Linked DNA regions of Homo sapiens: regions 1, 3 and 4 are each linked to region 2. The links are contacts of gene promoters, found by promoter capture Hi-C in blood cells and fetal thymus (Javierre and others, 2016). All regions are on one chromosome and are shown on one strand. Each heading gives the region's core, a stretch centred on a gene start or on the middle of the fragment in contact. The rest is flanking DNA. Distances are from core to core; before and after follow the strand shown. Region 1 overlaps CCDC50 (coiled-coil domain containing 50). Region 2 holds the start of OSTN (osteocrin). Region 3 has its middle 6.1 kb from the start of PYDC2-AS1. Region 4 overlaps CCDC50 (coiled-coil domain containing 50).

Region 1 (2,965 bases), core at 233-2,732, 180 kb before region 2:
TAATAAACTTTCTTAAGAAATCATCCAGTACTGTTCCATCATATATGCTGTCAATGGTATTAGTATTCTAAAGAGGCCAAGGATCTGAAGACTGCAGAATTAAGCCTAAAGATGATTTAAATTCATTTGACTAAAAAAAGGATAATAATCCAGATGTATTTACTTACTAAGAACAGATTAGCTGCTGCTTCTTTTACTTGGATACTTTGGGAATGTACTAACCTATAGAGTTCTAAGAAAATGTTTGGCATGTGCTTAACCAAAAGCTACAACAGAAAGATTTTATATAACTAGACAGAATATGCCACTATTCTTCTCAGAGCAATACAAACCCAATGTAATTTTCTGAAAGATTATCTTCTGAAAGCAAATGAGTTTTAAAATAGAGGATTACTTTTTAAGGACACTAAATACATTCACTTGAAGGAAACAAGTCTAGGAGCTTCAGTGTGGGCATGAGTAGCAACAACAGTGTCAATTATTCAATGAAATAAGCGTTATGTTTCAAGAATTAACAAATAAGAATAAAATTCAAATTTGAATAATTCAGAGTTTTCAAAATTTTAAACTTAGTGTTACTTTTTTGTCTTGTTTTTAGTATCTTTTTCTTCACATTCCAATCATGTTTTCTTTCGAAAGGCAACAAAAAGCAATTAAAAAAAAAAAGAGGTTACTTCCCCAGAGACTTAAATGTTGACAACTTGAGGCAGAAAGACAGCAGCTGCTCCATAACTATTATGCACGACTGTTTGAGATAAATCAGAAAGTATGTACACCATAGCCACAGCTATTTGTTGAGTGGGATTTAGACAGTCTGCAAGGATTCAAGATTTTGTCAAGGACACTGAGACTCAGAAAGAAATGAGTTTGAGCATGTGCAAATGGCATGCACACATCAGTGTGGCTATGAAACCCGGTAAATATTTAAAACTCGAAATTTTATTTAGGAAAAAAAATCACTCTCATTCCCCAAGCTGAAAGCATAAATTCAGTGAATGCAGAGGTAAGAATCAGTCCTAACAAAAAGTACATTCTTCCTTATCCACCCCAACTATTGTAAAATTCTGATTTGATGTACACAACTCAATTTAAGAGTGGAAATAAAGTTCTAAAAATAACCCTGAATGTCTTGACACTACCTTACAAATGCAGATTTTTGGATCTCCTCTCCAAAAAACATACACTCTTCTTAGGGAACTGAAATCTCCTTATTCACCCCAAAGTCAACTTCCTCATTTTTCTTTTCAGGTGTCAGCTTACCGTGCTGGCCTTTCATTCTTAGAATGGTGAGGTTCATCACTCTCTTTTGACTTGGAATTTGCTGCTTTAGCTGTTTTTGGCTATGGACAAAAATACAAACAAACAAACAAAAATAACACACACATACAATCCAGAATCATCAAACAAAGGGAAAGATTAAGTTTAACGTATGTTTATCATGCCAAGCTCTTCCTTAGTAATTTCAGATTAATTATATTTAATTGAGGAACATAAAATATTTTTATATATGGCCACTCCAGAGGTAGAAAATTTATAGCTGCAAAGGTAGGCTTTGGGCTTACATGGAAGGTGTAATTTAGCCCACTCATCTGAAAGCCTTAGAGCAGCCAGAGGAATGGGCTGAACACACAGGAACATGCTTCCCTAGATGGGTGTGCTTGGCCACTGATTATTAACATAATAGCTACACAGTAATTGCCAAGAACCAGTGCACGCCCAGAGTCTACGGAATCCAGGTTTGTGCACTCAAACTTATTTCCGCACACATGTCTTAGGCTGATTTCCAGCCAGTAAACTAAGGCACATTCAAGTCAACTTTTCCAAGAGAGGAACTGTATCAGTACCAGTTATAAAATAAAAATTACAGAAGTCATGATGATACCTGCTAGAGATGTGGCCATTGCCTTCTGACACGCTTGATTCCTAATCCTTAAATACTTACCCTTTCCTAGTTAAGGTAGCAAAGAATCTGAGAAACTCCTGGGTAATTATTTGTGGCTTAATTTATTTAACAAAAGTATTTGGGAATCCTTGACTAAAACAGTATATTAGAAAAAATCTTGAATTACTGAGTTAGTTAAGAGAGAGCTAAATATACATAATTAATATGAGAATAATACATTCATTGTTTTGAGACTAACTCGTGGGTAACTGAGCAACAGGAAAGAGTACAGCAATACTATTAGCAGGGTTTCTACACCTTTTTCCTCACAACCATTACTGAGACTGTGAGGTGGGACCAGAAACCCAATGGAGGAATTTGTTCAAGAGAGACCAGCGCTAAACACCAACTGTGTAAGGAATACACAACCTAGGTTTCATTCTTCTGGGCCTAAACTCCCTCCCTAAAAACCCTGTATTGTACGAATTCTCTCCCTATTCCTCTGCTCTTTTTCCACCTAGCTTAACCTTCTATTTGTTAGCTGTCTACACTTTGTCTTCCTCTCTACATTATACACTACTATCAGGAAAAATGTCTTTGTCTTTCCATGGAGGTCCAAAGTGTTGTCTTACGCGCTGTCACTGATGAATAAAGTCTGCTAAGCTGGAACTCACAATTACCGCAGCAAAATGAATTGCAGTAACTGCTTATTTTGTCTACAATTTCTGATCAACGAGGGGAAAGATAACCGTCCAAACTCACGCTAGATAGGTCTTGCACTGTGACATAAATAATAATTGTTGGTGATAAGTATGTATCTTTCAGTCTGCCACAAACCATGTTACATCAAAGGAAAGAGAAACGGATACATGATAGAGATGAAAGATAATGTAAGCACAAAGAAAGTAGAGACGGGAAGAGAAGTTCATTGTGGAAAATATGAAAGCATGTGAAAATGCTATATTCTTCTATAATCAAAGTACTGTATATGAAAACTAAGACTGTTCATGACCAGAAGCACTTGCATTTCACTCCGTCTTAAAGGGAACAGAATGAGTTTTCAATCTTAGCAGTAACTTTTTA
Region 2 (3,281 bases), core at 670-3,169:
TACCGTGACACTTATCTGAAGAAAGAAGAGAAAGAGCTAGCTAAAAAAAATAAATAAATAAATAAAAAATGAAGCCTTTAATCTGAGAGATCTTAAGCCATTTGGAGAGTTGGTTCATTTAAGAGAGATACCCAGAGTTAGCACCTTGTTGTAGCTTACTTGTTGTATCCCCACAAGCTCCTGAGGGGAGGAGAATAAAGCTTCAGGGAAGCTGAATGGTTTGTCCATAAAGCTGTCGAAGTCAGAACTAGAATTAGAAGTCTAGTTTTCTGCCTCCAAAGCTTGTATTTCTCTGACTGAACTATTGAATCTAAGCAAAAGTTGTCTGGTAGGTAACAGTCATAGTAAATGAAATATTGGCAAAGCAGTTAAATTAGCTCTAAAGATTAGTCCTAAACTTCTGTGATACTGAGGTTTTATTCTCTAATATAGGGAAAATTGACTGACATGGGGGCTTCCTCAAATATTTTTATACTCAGTATCCCTAGCACTTCTATTTTTTTTTGTCCTTTTCACAAGGACAAAATACAATATTATCAAGCCTTAATTCGTGCTTAAGGCTTGCCTGCAGTTGTATAGGTGGATTATAGCAGAGCTAGAATGATATATTAGGATTTCTTACTTCGAGTTCTTTATTTTTGAGACAAGTTCAATTAATCTAATTTTATTAATCAAATGTTCAAATCATTGAGAGTATTTGTAAAAGAAGTTAAAATTATAGCCCTGAGGTTCCCGTGCCCAGTCAACTGAAGATATCTGCTTCTCTACTGCTCATTATTCAGTATATAAGAATCAGTTAAAAATCCTGAGAAATAAGGGGGAGAAAGCAAATGTCAACCTTAAACACTCTGAATAATTTTTGAATGAAGCCATAGTAAAATTCACTGACATGAAGGAGACCTGAACTGTTATCTACAGAAAGTGCTCCTTAGAAAAGTTCTGTAAGCGTGCTGAAGAGTAGTACCAAAGTAAGAGAAAACACAGAATGTCCCTGGTGTTTTTGGTATAACACTATCAATTCTATAACTTATATAGGCATTAAAATTACCATAATTCATTCTCAAAAATGTTAAATTTTTAGAAGGAAAACTCATAAACAAATAATAATCACATTCCTAAACCTATAGAGTCTGTTATTCAAAGAAACAACATTTGAATTGTTAGAACTGAATTCACTGAGTGCACACTAAACCTGAAATAAAATTTTAAATTTCTTCTCCAACAGAGCTCAAATGTATGTTTCAGATTAACTCTCAATTCAATCATTGAATAGCAAGAGCACTACAAATACTGAAGAACAGGCATACTCTAAGTCTACTCCAACTATGTTATTAATATCATATTTGCATATTTGACATATAAGGAGAAAAACAGAAGATGCATTAGGTTTTAAGAACATAAGAGATAGAATTTCATTAGTTTAGGGATGTTTCTTAAGCTCCAGTTTTGATAGAAATAATGAGGAAAAAACCTTTCTTTTTTACCTAGGTTGTTTAGACCACTCTTTTATATTAAACATTTTTCTAATATTACACAATTTTGAGGAAAGCAAAATAACGCTAATAACATATATATGTATAGAATTATTATTTTGCATTCACTTTCTGTTTGTTTTGAAATGGAAGAGAAAAGCAATCTTATAAATATGAAATATCTGAATAAGCAATTAGTTCTACCTTAAGTTTGCATTACAAAAATATCTTTGATTTTCTACTCATTTTAGAGAGGGAAATATTACCACTCTAATTTTAACAAAATCAAGATATAATCAAAACATTTAAAGAGTCTGTGAAAGTAAAAATAATAGTTAAAAGAAGCATTAAATCTTTATCAATTTTTACATATAACTTACCTCGTGAAAGATCAGGAGATTCTAACTTTAGAGTACTGTCTCTGCAGTTTCTCCAAAACTCAGCCCTGGTGGTGAGTTTTCTCTCTGAGTTTTTATAGTCTCAGTTATACACCCCTTACTCCAATCCCTGCCTTTGCTTTCTCTTACATCATTTCTACAGATTTTCCACTGAACATTTTCCCAAGCCTCTCTTCGATCTCTTTCTCTCCCTCCCTCTCCCTTCCTTCTTCAGTTTCTCCCTCCCTCCTTTCCCTCCATATTTAGTCTATCTATTGCTTTGATCATGGCATTTAAATAACGATGGAAGTATAGGCTCTGGAAAATTTGAATATAGATTTAGTATTGTGTTCAGCTTCACACCCATCACCTCTTCCTGAGGTTTTAGTCAAGCTCTGATTATTACAAATCATATTTGGGAAATAAAATGCACTAAGATTTGTTAAAAAGTCACCAGGGAATTTCAATGTACGATATAGAGAGATTGTAATCAGACACAAACGGATTTATTGGTGTAATTTTTGGACCTTTAAATGATCAGCTATGGAAATAATGAGTACTTTCAGCCTCCGTCAGGTGCACAGTGCTGTGTCAGTGAAACACAATGACAGCTACTTCGTAATTAACATTGCTATACTGGGAAGGCTGTCACTAACAAACCTATAAATACTGAGCTGTGACATGTGAGCTATAAATGAAGACGTTGTAATCATTTTTGTCTTGCTCTTGTTCTTCAGTACTTTGATTTCTTTTTAACCAAAATATTTCTGCCTTTGGCTGAAGGTTTTCTTTCATTCTTATCTCCTACTAATTATATTTGCATCCTTACATACACAAATTATTTTTTAAATGAATTATTAAGTTATAAAGGTAACATGTTATGTTATTAGATCGTTAATGGCTCATTTGATTCACCAGAGGGTCCCCATCTGACAGGTAAAGAGGCCAAGGCTCAGATAAATTAAGTGACTTTATGAGATCACACACGTAAGAAGTAGTCGCAGAGCTGGATTTCAAATGCAGATCTTCCTAATTCCATATCCAGTTCTTTTCCCACGACTGCATTCTATCTCACTGCTTTAAAAGCTAGAAAAGAGAATCCAAACCAGATTATATTTTTGCACAAAAAGCAATAAATTTATTCTTTTTGGTTTCCCTAAAAAGGCCATTTAAAATACTAGTCACTAGTATAAGGACAATTACATGGTTAATTTGGATCTAGATGGGGAAACTGACCAGAGCACACAGAATTAGTGGGACAGTAAAATGCTTCATTTTTATGATGGGTTTCCAGGGATAACATATGTCTCAACAAGCTTGAAATTTGAGTAGTTGGCAGAGACAGTTCACAAATCAAGATAAAAATACAGCCTAATTGTGGACCCTTGTTTAGACATTACTGCCATAAAACAATTATGTTAGCTTGAATCCA
Region 3 (2,872 bases), core at 10-2,509, 220 kb before region 2:
TTCAGTTATTTACTATATGGGCTCAAGACCTATACCATATCTAAAATATTTTCTTTCTGACTATAACAATTCATCCTTTACACTAATCCCCTTATTTCATGACCCGTGAACTCTGATCTTGTGGTGATCTGATGGAAAACTTTTCCCTACTCTCCAAGAATGTTACTTCTTGCCCCCCTGGCCTCACCCAAAGATCTCATAGTGCTTTACCTTAACCTCTTTCTCTCCTCTGGCTCTAGGCCTCCCTGTTACACATGCCCATCTGAACCCCAACAATGCATCACTCTCAACCATTCACCTCTTCTGCTTCTACATATGGGTTGCCGATGTGGCTGCTGAAACCAAGCAACCATGAAGATTGATGCCACAATAAATGAGCACAGTCCAATCACAGCTGTTTTCTCAATCTACAGTGCTCAGCAATTCCTAGTCAGTCCCCTCTATCATTTAGCTCAGCTCTTCTTCTAAACTGTCACCATTCTCCACAAGCTTCTAAATCTCACTGTTCTATTGTAGAACATAACTTGTCGTCATATTTCACGTTCCTCAAACTTCCTTGCCTCCTCGTTCTCAACACAGGAAATTCCCTTCTACTACACAGAAGGAAAAAAAGAAATCAAAAATAGAAATTCCATTCACTTTCTACTAGCACATCCTATGTGCATCTGCATTCTCTTTTCCCTCATCTTCATATTATATATGACCTATGTATACTCTAATATGATGCACAGGCATACCACTGAGAGATTGCAGATTGAGTTCCAGACCACTGCAATAAAACAAATATCACAAATATTCCGGTTTCCCAGTGCACATAAAAGTTGTGTTTACACTCTAACATAGTTTAAGTGTGCAATAGCATTATACCTTAATTTAAAAATATTTTATTGCTAAAAACTGCTAAAGATCCTTCAGACCATTGCAAACTTTTTGCAGATGGATGGTCTTGCCTTGATGTTGATGGCTGCTGACAGATCAGGGTGGTGGTTGCTAAAAGGTTGGGGTGGCTGTGGCAATTTCTTAAAATTAGACAACAATGAAATTTGCTGCATCAACTGACTTATTTTCATGAAAGATTTCTCTGTAGCATGGGATGTTATTTGATAGAGTTTCATCCACAATATAACTTTAAAAATTGGAGTCAGTGCTCTCAAACCATGCTGTTGCTTTACCTGCTAAGTTTATATAATGTTTTAAATATTTTGTTTTCATTTTAACAATGTTCACAGCATCTTCACCAGGAGTAGATTCCATCTTAAGAAACCACTTTCTTTGCTCATCCAGAAGAAGCAACTTCTTATCCACTCAAGTTTGATCATCAGATTGCAACAATTAAGTCACGTATTCAGGCACCATCCCAATTATTGTTATCTTGCTATTTCAATCACATTTGCATTTATTTTCTCCACAGGAGTCTTGAACCTCTCCAAGTCATTCATGAGGATTAGAATCAACTTCTTCTGAATTCCTGTTAATGTTGATATTTTAACCTCTTCCCATGAATCATGAATGCTTTTAATGGCATCGCAAATGTTGAATCCCTTCCAGAAGTTTTTCAATTTACTTTGCCCAGATCCAACAGAGGAATGACAATCTATGGCAGCTATGGCCTCACAATGTGAAATTTTTAAATAATCAGACTTGAAAGTTCAAATTATTCCTTGGTCTACGGGCTGTAGAATGGATGTTATGTTAGCAGGCATGAAAACAACATTAATATCCTTGTATATCTCTATCAAAGCTCTAGGGTGACTAGGTGCATCATCAATGAGCAATAATATTTTAAAAGGAATTTTTTTTTCTGAGCAGTTGGTCTCAACAGTGGGCTTAAAATATTCAGCAAACCATGCTGTAAGTAGATGTGCTGTCATCCACGTTACATTTTTCCATTCATAGAGCACAGATAGAGTAAATTAAGCAGAAGTCTTAAGGATTCTCAGACTTTTGGAAGGGTGAGCACTGACTTCAACTGAAAATCACCAGCTGCATTAGCTTCTAAAAAGAGAGTCAGCCTGTCCTTTGAAGCTTTAAGCCAGGCATTAACTTCACTCTAGCTTTGACAGCCCTAGATGACATCTTCTTCCAATACAAGGCTGATTCATCCACATTGAAAACCTGTTGTTTGGTATAGCCACCTTCATCGATCATCTTTGCTAGATCTTCTGGACAATTTGCTACAGCTTCTACATCAGCACTTGCTGCTTCATCTTGTGCTTTTATGGAGGTGGCTTCTTTCCTCAAACTTCATGAACCAACCTCTGCTAGCTTCAAACTTTCCTTCTGCAGCTTTCTCACCTCTCTCATAGTTCAAAGAATTGAAGAGCATTAGGGCCTTCTTCTAGAGTAGGCTTGGCTAAAGGAGACTTGTGGCTGGTTTCATCTTCTATCCAGAGAACTGAAACTTTCTCCATATAAGCAATAAGGCTCTTTCACTTTATCACTCGTGTATTCACTGGAGTAGCACTTTTAATTTCCTTCAAAACCTTTACATTCACAACTTGGCTGGTTGGTGCAAGAAGCCTAGCTTTCAGCCTGTCTCAACTTTTGACATATGTTCCTCACTGAACTTCAATCATTTCTAGCATTAGATTGAAAGTGTGAGGTGCACAACTCTACCTTTCACTTGGACACTTGGAGGCCACTGTAGGGTTATTAAATAGCCTCATTTCAATATTGTTGTATCTCAGGGAATACTGAGGCCCGAGGTGAGGGAGAGAAATAGGGGAATGGCTATTGGTAGAGCCGTCAGAACACAAACAGTATTTATCTACTAAATTAACCATCTTATTTGGGCATAGTTTATGATGCCCCAAAACAATTACAATAGTAACATAAGGATCACTGATTGCAAATCACCATAACAGATATAACA
Region 4 (3,052 bases), core at 53-2,552, 200 kb before region 2:
CAAGACATACTAGTGGAGTTAATTTACAAGAACATCCGAAGACCATTTGAGGAAAGAGGCTCAAATTTCAGCCTTGGGAATAAAACATAGAGATGGGTATTGGTTAGAAAAACACATAACAAGTTAATGACAATCTACTGGATGTGGAGACAGAAGTAGCAAAATACTGCAGTAAAGAACAAAAGATCATGGTTGTCTTTCATGATGGAATGCCTAGGAAGTCTTTGTGATTTTACAGGACCCAGCAGTGAATAAAGCTGCTCTCTTCCTGGCAACATCTTAAAAGAAACCAGCAGCCGTTGACCGCAGGAATCCTCAAATGTTATACTTGAAGTAGTGCTTCAGGCAAGTGAACTGAGGTACAGCAGGATAAATGATGTCCCAAGGTCCTGAAACAAGCTCATAGCAAAACCTGGACTAGGACCCCGTATCTCATTCCTGTAGATTTCTTTAGTACACTGATTTCGCAGCAGCCTTTAGTTTATGTTCGTTCATTTAAGCATGATACCCAAACACAATGGAGGAGGGGCATTGGTCTTCCTGCCCTTGAAATGGGGGCAAAATTGTCTTGAAACCATGGTTCTAGGATTTGTAGTAGTCCAAAACCCTCTTAAAGGTTTCACCAAATTTCGAAGGTGTGCGAGGTAGATAGTGGTCTCTTAGCTGTTGTAAGAAGGAACTGGCCAGGCGCGGTGGCTCATGCCTGCAATCCCAGCACTTTGGGAGGCCGAGGCAGGCGGATCATGAGGTCAGGACATCGAGATCATCCTGGCTAACACGGTGAAAACCCATCTCTACTAAAAATACAAAAAAATTAGCCAGGCATGGTGGTGGGCACCTGTAGTCCCAGCTACTTGGGAGGCTGAGGCAGGAGAATGGCGTGAACCCGGGAGGCGGAGCTTGCAGTGAGCCGAGATCGCGCCACTGCACTCCAGCCTGGGCGACAGAGCAAGACTCTATCTCAAAAAAAAAAAAAAAAAAAAAAAAAGAAGGAACTTTCTTGTATGCTACCTTTTCACATGGCCACATGGCCATAGCCTGACAATCAGACTCAAGTCATATTCCCCATAAACCACCCTATCACCTTGAGTACCTCTTACCACAGATTAAAGGGATCTGTTTTACTTGCATATTTAATTTTTTAGTTGGCTTCTAGATGCATCAACTTTTTCCACTGGCAACTTTAGTATTTATTTAGAGACCAAAGGTTGAAATCAACATACTAATCTTCAACTAAATAAAACAGTATCACCTGCACATCACTGGTACTACTCAGGATCTAGCAGAGACTACAGAAATCATTTAGATTTCCTGCTATATTTGCCACAGAGGAATCTGAGGCCTAGAGAATCTACTGTAGGGGTGGCTAAATAGTGACATCTTTAAAAATAAATTTAGTAGTCATTGAAAATATTATATTTAAGATACCTAATTTTTGCAGAATCATTTCCTACATTGTGGCTATTCTATCAAACCAAATAAGAAAAAAAAAATTCTTATGAAGGTAAAATATTGAATAAATCAGTTATTAATATCCATTTCTCAAAATACATTGAAGTGTCCACAAGGTGTCAGGTATAGTGCAGAGTTGTGCATGGGGTCTTTAATCACTGGAATTATTGTGTGAACATCCACTTACCTGTTTTTTTTCCTCCCAAATATATCAATCAAACCACGAAACACCACACACAAAACAAAGCTACTTCTCCAACTGATCCACACTTGGCAGTATTTATTGAGGATTTCAATACACCAGGCATCATTATCATGTTATACATATTTACAGAAAGTGTATGGAAATGGAGTAAGAAAAAATTTCACTGTTACTAAACAGACCTATTAGGGTCATTTTGTAAATAATAATAATTATAATAAGACTCTCGTAAGTTTCCCTGTCCTTGAATGCTGTAAAGAAACAAAACAAAAACATGAGACAGAGACCACTGACTTAACAAATGGATGACTTTATTAAGAGAGAAGGACAAGACTGATGTTTACCTTGGTCAAACCATCCAGGAAAACAAAGCACACAGACTTATAGAATACTTTGGTTTAAAAATTATTCATAATATCAATATTAAACCTGATGTTTAAAGAACCTAATGAGAAATATAGTGTAAAAAACAAACCATGAAAACACAAGTTTGCATAGATGAATTAATGTAGATGTACAATTGGCATTTAAAAAAGGAGGTTTGCGTTTTGGGAGTGCCTTAACGATGTTGAACACCTCAACCTCCCAAGACACATGAAAGTCACCAGCACCACAATTCTCATTTTCCTCAATGAGGTCATGAGCAGGAACAACTTGTGCTGTACGGAGGTGAACTGAAAGAGACTGCTTCCATTGGCCTAGTCCAGATGAGTGTATATATTCCCATCAGAACCCACCACTGGTCATCTTTAAGGCATCCACAAAATGTCCCTCACAAATTCACTTAATCTCTAGATAGGCATGTGGTCTGAGGCAGCCTCTTTGTTTTCTGTCCTCACACAGGCAACTGCATTCCATCAAGGTTCTGTTCAATTCCACGAACTAGCTATTTCAAAGCTGCCTATTCTTCTGGGGCTTGGTTATAAATCCATGTGGATTTGGAATAACAATCCATTTGTTTTATAAATATATCCACATTCCAAATATCAAAGGGGCACTTCCTAAGGAATCTGAAAGTGCCCAGGCAATGCGTAGTCTCTCTCTCAAGAGATCACGTTTCTAAATTATGAGACAAATGATAGCATCACCTCAGGTTTCCTGGGCAACTTGATTTATATGAGCAAACTCTTGTACTTTTTAATTCAGCACCTTTTCAAAATATGTGCTGGGATGGATTCTTCTTAGGGAAAGCCCCATATAGAATTCTCATTTTGGAGCATCATTTTTATATGCTATCTCCCCAGTGTATCTTCTCAATATTTATAACACTTTATGAAATAAATATTGGGTTGCCTGTAAGAAGAGAAAAATATAGCTCTTTCTGAGAAAGAGCATTTGGCTTGCAGTTTACAGCAAGAGCTGAAATTAGAGACCATAGGGATTTCCAAGACCAATTTG

The links. Contacts are between HindIII fragments. The CHiCAGO score rates a contact against its expected background, and 5 or more counts as called.
Region 1: a fragment that was not itself captured here is called in contact with the fragment with the promoter of OSTN in region 2 in 2 of 17 cell types (total B cells and naive B cells); the score reaches 6.5 in total B cells.
Region 3: a fragment that was not itself captured here is called in contact with the fragment with the promoter of OSTN in region 2 in 1 of 17 cell types (naive B cells); the score reaches 5.2 in naive B cells.
Region 4: a contact is called between a fragment that was not itself captured here and the fragment with the promoter of OSTN in region 2, in 1 of 17 cell types (naive B cells). The highest score is 5.1, in naive B cells.

What each region holds. Positions count from the first base shown.
Region 1 is chr3:191,381,121-191,384,085 of GRCh38, reverse strand. It overlaps CCDC50 (coiled-coil domain containing 50), which reads right to left. Exons shown (of 12, transcript NM_178335.3): 10 at 1,261-1,340. Among named protein-coding and RNA genes, the nearest start is that of PYDC2-AS1, 43 kb to the left of the region's middle. The HindIII fragment of the contact is 3,482 bases long and covers 1-2,965 here.
Region 2 is chr3:191,197,879-191,201,159 of GRCh38, reverse strand. It overlaps OSTN (osteocrin), which reads right to left and starts at 1,919. Exons shown (of 5, transcript NM_198184.2): 1 at 1,853-1,919. The HindIII fragment of the contact is 2,884 bases long and covers 284-3,167 here.
Region 3 is chr3:191,417,950-191,420,821 of GRCh38, reverse strand. No RefSeq gene overlaps it. Among named protein-coding and RNA genes, the nearest start is that of PYDC2-AS1, 6.1 kb to the left of the region's middle. The HindIII fragment of the contact is 1,536 bases long and covers 492-2,027 here.
Region 4 is chr3:191,397,325-191,400,376 of GRCh38, reverse strand. It overlaps CCDC50 (coiled-coil domain containing 50), which reads right to left. Exons shown (of 12, transcript NM_178335.3): 12 at 1,718-3,052. Among named protein-coding and RNA genes, the nearest start is that of PYDC2-AS1, 27 kb to the left of the region's middle. The HindIII fragment of the contact is 5,466 bases long and covers 1-3,052 here.